Linked DNA regions of Homo sapiens: region 2 is linked to region 1. The links are contacts of gene promoters, found by promoter capture Hi-C in blood cells and fetal thymus (Javierre and others, 2016). All regions are on one chromosome and are shown on one strand. The core of a region is centred on a gene start or on the middle of the fragment in contact, and the rest is flanking DNA. Distances in the headings are between cores, read along the strand shown. Region 1 holds the start of FAM98C (family with sequence similarity 98 member C). Region 2 overlaps SARS2 (seryl-tRNA synthetase 2, mitochondrial).

The links. The method cuts DNA at HindIII sites, captures the fragments that hold promoters and counts their contacts. A CHiCAGO score of 5 or more calls a contact.
Region 2: a fragment that was not itself captured here is called in contact with the fragment with the promoter of FAM98C in region 1 in 9 of 17 cell types (activated CD4 T cells, monocytes, naive CD4 T cells and 6 more); the score reaches 8.7 in activated CD4 T cells.

Annotation. Positions count from the first base shown.
Region 1 is chr19:38,401,568-38,404,565 of GRCh38, reverse strand. FAM98C (family with sequence similarity 98 member C) reads right to left here and starts at 1,473. Exons shown (of 8, transcript NM_174905.4): 1 at 1,348-1,473; 2 at 1,080-1,228; 3 at 872-1,006. The coding sequence starts at 1,412. RefSeq lists silencers at 967-1,166, 1,357-1,686. The HindIII fragment of the contact is 11,725 bases long and covers 1-2,525 here.
Region 2 is chr19:38,918,600-38,921,523 of GRCh38, reverse strand. It overlaps SARS2 (seryl-tRNA synthetase 2, mitochondrial), which reads left to right. Exons shown (of 16, transcript NM_017827.4): 5 at 78-132; 6 at 1,375-1,438; 7 at 1,657-1,762; 8 at 2,711-2,758. Among named protein-coding and RNA genes, the nearest start is that of CCER2, 7.9 kb to the right of the region's middle. RefSeq lists an enhancer at 2,515-2,924. The HindIII fragment of the contact is 441 bases long and covers 1,312-1,752 here.

The DNA of each region.
Region 1 (2,998 bases), core at 224-2,723:
GGCGAGACTCCATTTCAAAAAAAAAAGAGGCTCCACCGGCTTTAAAACCTCCACCTTTGCCCAGGCACAGTGGCTCATGCCTGTAGCCTGTAATCCCAACACCTTGGGAGGCTGAGGTGGGAGGATCGCTTGAAGCCAGGAGTTGAAGACCAGACAGGGCAACATAGGGAGACCCCACCTCCACTTAAAAACAAAACAAAACAAAATCCTCCACCTTCTAGTCCCCCCCACCTAAAGCCTTCCAGAGTAAGCCCCACCTTGAGACCCTGTCCCCTCCTACGAATTCCACTCCTGCCCACTTTGAAACCTCAAGCCTTCCTCCTAATCCAACCCACTTGAGCTCCTAGGCCCTCCAATTAAAATTCTAACCCCGGGCCGGGCGTGGTGGGCTCACGCCTGTAATCCCAACACTTTGGGAGGCCGAGGTGGACAGATCACCTGGGGTCAGGAGTTCGAGACCTGCCTGGCTAACATGGTGAAACCCCGTTTCTACTAAAAATAGCCGAGTGTGGTGTCGCGCGCCTGTAATCCCAGCTACTCGGGAGGCTGAGGCAAGAGAATCACTTGAACCTGGGAGGTGGAGGTTGCAGTGAGCCGAGATCACGCCACTGCACTCCAGCTTGGGTAACAAGAGTGAAACTCCATCTCAAAAATAATAATAATAAAATAAATAAAAAATAAAACGAAATTCTACCCCCGCCCATTTTAGAGCGCTCTGCTTGCCCCAACATGCTCACCCCACCCACCTCGTACCCTCTGGGCCGCCCCAAAGTTCTGACCACACCCCTTGGGAACCTCGATTTCCCCTAAAAAGTCAGAGCCCGCCGCTCCGGAGGCCATGGCCTTGCCACTTCTGCATCCCGGGACTCACGCAGCAGGCGCAGTCCGGCACCGGGTTCCCGAAGCGCAGCCGCGCCATCCCCGCCGCAGAGCGCGCGATCCGGGCAGTGCAGCTCCCGCAGCAGGCTGCCGAGCTGCCGCAGAAAGTCCTCCTCCGCGCCAGGGCCTGCGAGGACAGGGGTGTCAGGGCTCGGTGGCCCCGTGGCGGCCCCCCTGCCACCCTCCCGCTCCGTGTTTACCGTCGCCGGCGCTCAGCACCTCCGCGCCCGCCTCTCGCTGCTGCTCGAGGGCGCCCAGCGTCGCCAGCTCCGCCGCCAGCCGCACGCACAGCCCCCTGAAGTCTGGGCATGAGGCGCCCCGCGACGCCGCCCCCGGGACACCTCCATACCTGTGGGGACCGAGGCAGCGGGAGGGGGCGGGGATGTCACTGGGAATCCCTTTTCGTCCGCGTCCAGGGGGCAGACCTGGCCTTCCTGCACCCACCAGCCTCACCGCACACCCTTTTACCCCAGAGCCAGCAGGTCCTGGGCCACCGCGGCCCCCTCCCACGCTTCCGCCTTCACCGCCTCCATGAAAGTGTGGTCTCGGCGCGCCCCCTGGCGGCCGGTGGCAGGCTCCGCCCCAAAAGCGCCGCGCGCACGAGCTCCCCGCAGCGTCCGGCGGCACTGACCAATCGGCATCTTCCCGCGCAGGGGCTTGGGTGCTCCCATTGGCGCAGGAGGACGCCGAACCCGCCCCGGGGCCCGCCCGCCCCGCCCCTCGGCTAACCTGTCGGGGTTGTAGGAACGCCCCCTGGAGCTGTAAATTGCAGTGCGTTCGGGATCTCCGCTGTCAAGACAAGCTGGCGGCGGGTGTCACTGTTGCGGCGACATAAAAACAACTTCGGTGCCATTTTCCTTTTCCTCCCTCAGTTGTCTTCTGCTGGTGTTTTGTTGGTTTGTTTTTGAGGCAGATTTCGCTCTATCGTTCAGGCTGGACTGCAGTGGCGCCATCGCGGCTCACTGCAGTCTCGACCTTCTGGGCTCAAGAGATCCTCCCGCCTCAGCCTCCCAGCTAAATTTTTAAAAATCAGTCAGCCTTGGTGGCTTACACCTAGTAGCTGGGACCACAGGCGCAGACCACCGCGCCTGGCTGATTTGTTTTTAATTTTTTTGTAGAGACAAGGTTTCCTCATGTTGCCCAGCCTGGTTTCCAACTGCTGGGTTCAAGCGATCCGCCTGCCTCGGCCTCCCAAAGTGCTGGAATTACAGGCGTGAGCCACTGCAACCGGCCAATTTTTTTTTTTTTTTAAAGTTTTGTAGAGGCCGGGCACGGTGGCTCACGCATGTAATCCCAGCACTTTGGGAGGCTGAGGTGGGTGGATCACTTGAGGTCAGGAGTTCGAGACCAGCCTGGGCACATGGTGAAACCTCATCTCTAATAAAAATACAAAAATTAGCCGGGCGTGGTGGCACACGCCTGTAGTCACCACTATTTGGGAGGCTGAGGCAGGAGAATTGCTTGAGCCCGGGAGACACAGACTGCAGTGAGCCAAGATCGCGCCACTGCACTCCAGCCTGGGGACAGAGCAAGACTCCGTGTCAAAAAAGAAATAAAGTTTTGTAGAGAGGGGTCTAGCTATGTCGCCCAGGTTTGCCTCTAACTCCAGTGTTCAAGCAATCCTTCCCTCTCAGCCTTCCAAAGCTTGGGATTACAGGCTTGAGCCAGTGTTCCTGGCCCTGTCCTCTGCTCTTAAAGCAGCCCAGACGGAGTGGTGTTCACCCAACTCTGCCTAAAATCCAAAACTTCCTCCCTCCTTTCCACCTCAGGGTTTGAATTACATAAGGGACCCAGGAATCCCAGCACACCCCTCACACACCAGGCCCTCCTCATCGATCACGATGTGCCTGTTAGGCCTTCACTCCTCTCCCTCTTAGGCCTTGGAGTGAGCAGGTGCAATGCACCATAGTGGTTAAGAGATTACACCCTAGGAATCAGGCAAAGGGTTAGGGCTTGATTCTGTTACTCGCCAGCTCCATGTTCCTGCCAAATTGCTTCCCATCTGTATAATGGGGATAATAGTACCTACCTCTTAGAGTTGTTGCTGAGGATTAATTAGAGTTTCATATGTAAAAAGTGCTTAGCAGATATATAGGGAGTACTTAATAAGGAATAACTA
Region 2 (2,924 bases), core at 283-2,782, 520 kb before region 1:
AGCACCGTGCTGGGTGGCAGGGAGGCCAGGGGCCCACCTAGTGCCACCTTTCCGTGACTCCTGCTGTCTCCCTGCAGCCCGTCGGGGATGAGAGCCAGGCTCGAGTGCTCCACATGGTCGGAGACAAGCCAGGTGGGCCACACCCCAGGCCTGGGAGCTGACAAGCCCTGCGGTGTGGGGGTTCTGGGGTCTCGGGGTGGGGGCCCCTGGGGTCTGGGAACATGTCTGGAGCCTGGAGAACTCCTGGCGGTACAGGAGGTGGCTCCAGCTTCCTGCCTTGGCCGAGCTCGAGCTGTCTCTGAGAGGCGGTCCTTGGGTTTTCATTCTCTCCCCCTTCACCATTGGGCAGTCTCACCCTGTGTTGTGTGATTGTATCGTATGTGTGTGAGTGTGTGTCGTGTATGTATGTGTTGTGTGACTGTGTGTCATGTGTGTCTGTATCTGTGTGTCTGTATCTGTATGTGTGTGTCTGTATCTGTGTATCTGTGTGTGTCTGTATCTGTGTATCTGTGTGTGTCTGTATCTGTGTGTGTGTGTCTGTGTTTGTGTGTGTCTGTATCTGTGTCTGTGTCTGTGTGTGTGTGTCTATGTGTGTGTCTATCTCTGTGTGTGTATATCTGTGTTTGTGTGTGTGTGTGTCTGTGTGTGTCTATGTATCTGTGTGTATGTATCTGTGTGTCTTTCTCTGTGTCTGTGTGTATGTGTCTGTCTCTGTGTGTCTGTGTGTGTATCTGCATATCTCCGTGTATCTCTGTGTGTATGTCTGTATCTGTGTCTGTGTATCTGTGTCTTTGTGTGTATCTGTGTGTGCGTGTCTGTCTTTGTGTGTCTGTATCCGTGTATCTGTGTGTCTGTCTCTGCGTGTCTGTGTATGTGTCTGTCTCTGTGTGTCTGTATATGTGTGTGTGTCTTCGTACCTCTGTGTGTATCTCTGTGTGTGTATGTATGTGTGTGAGTGTGTGTGTGTCTCTGTCTCTCTCTCTGACCCCCCTGCTTTGGTCCCTGTCTCCGGGGCTTTTTCTCCCCAACTCTGTGCCTCCTCTCTGATTCTCCTCCTCCCTTCCTCGTGGTGTTTCCTTCTCCTCTGGCCTCTCTCCTCTGTTTCTAACTCTGCCTTCCCCACCCCGCGCCCTCTTATTTCCCTCTCTGCCTCCTCTCATTTCCTCTCCCTGTCTCTGTTTTTATCTCCCTCCCTTCCTGTCTGTCTTTTCTTCCCTTTCCCTCCCTTTCCGTGTCTTCTTCTCCCTTCTCTCCTCCTGCCCCTCCTTTATTTTCTCTCACCGTCCCTCCTCTCTGCTGTCTCTGGAAGCTTCTATCTGGGCCCCATCCCTCTCTCCCCGCTGCCTTACACCGGTGCTTTTCACCCACATCCAGTTTTCTCCTTCCAACCTCGGGGCCACCTGGAAATTGGCGAGAAACTCGACATCATCCGTCAGAAGTGAGCCCCTCCCCTGGCTCCCCACGCCCCTCTCCCAGCTGCCTGCACCCCGACAGCTGGCTCCTGCCTCATTGGCCTCAGCGTGAGATGTGGAAATGCCATGAATCTTTGATGCCCCAGCCCCACCCAGCAGCCGGGCCTCTTCCCCCGGGTGTTTTCATCCCCACATTCCCTGCCAGCCTGGCCCATGTGCACCCGCCTGTCTGTCTGTCTCCCAGGCGCCTGTCCCACGTGTCTGGCCACCGGTCCTATTACCTGCGCGGGGCTGGAGCCCTCCTGCAGCACGGCCTGGTCAACTTCACATTCAACAAGCTTCTCCGCCGGGTATGGGCCAAGATAGGAGGGCTGCCTGGAGGGGGTGGCATCGAAGCTGAGCTCAGAGGGCCCAACGGGGATGGGAGTGATCTCTGCTCTGCCCTAGTCACTGCTCTCAGAGCTTCATGTGTATCATTGACACATTTAGTCCTTACGACAACTTTATGAAGTGGGTGCTGTCATCATCCCCACTTTACAGAGAGGGCTTGAGGCCCAGAGAGGGGAGGTACCTATAGCCCAAGGTCTCACAGCCAGTCTGGAGCTGGGCCTAGAGCCTGTGCTTGTAATCATTGCACCTCACTGCCTGCTTGCGGTATAAAGGGAGCATTTGGGAATCATAGCATCCATTGAAACATGGCAGGGACTGGTTGCATGGAGCATTGGTCACGGTGAGGAACTCAGACATTTTCAGAGGGTACTAGGGAGCCATGGGAGGCTTTTAAGCAGGGGAGGGTGTGGCCAAATCTGTACTTTTTTGTTTTTTGAGACGGAGTCTCGCTCTGTCACCCAGGCTGGAGTACAGTGGTGCAATCTTGGCTCACTGCAACCTCCACCTCCCGGGTTTAAGTAATTCTCCTGCCTCAGCCTCCTGAGTAGCTGGGATTACAGGCACATGCCACCATGCTGGCTAATTTTTTTTTTTTTCTTTTTGACAGAGTTCGCTCTGTCACCCAGACTGGAGTGCAGTAGCACGATCTCCATGCCGGCTAATTTTTGCCTTTTTAGTGGAGAGGGGGTTTTGCCATGTTGGCCAGGCTGGTCTCAAACTCCTGGCCTCAAGTGATCCGCCCACCTCAGCCTCCCAAAGTGCTGGGATTACATGGGTGAGCCACTGCGCCAGCCCCTGCCTCAGTTTCGTCTGAGGAGGAAGGGGCTCTGCAGCACCCCTTCTTCAGGGCTGAGCTTGGGGTCTGGTAGGGGTCCCAGCTCTGCTCACTCATCCTCTCCCCTGAACAGGGCTTCACCCCCATGACGGTGCCAGACCTTCTCCGCGGAGCAGTGTTTGTGAGTGAGGCCTCTCCGCTTCCCTCGCCCACCTGGGTGTCAGGCCCTGCCGTGGGTGCCCGAGGCAGGGAAACCTGAGGAGACCGCCCTGGGGCTGGGTTGAGGGGGCCAGGCCATACCAGGGAGGCCAGGGCAGCTCCAGATGTTTTCAGGGGAGGAGCTGGGG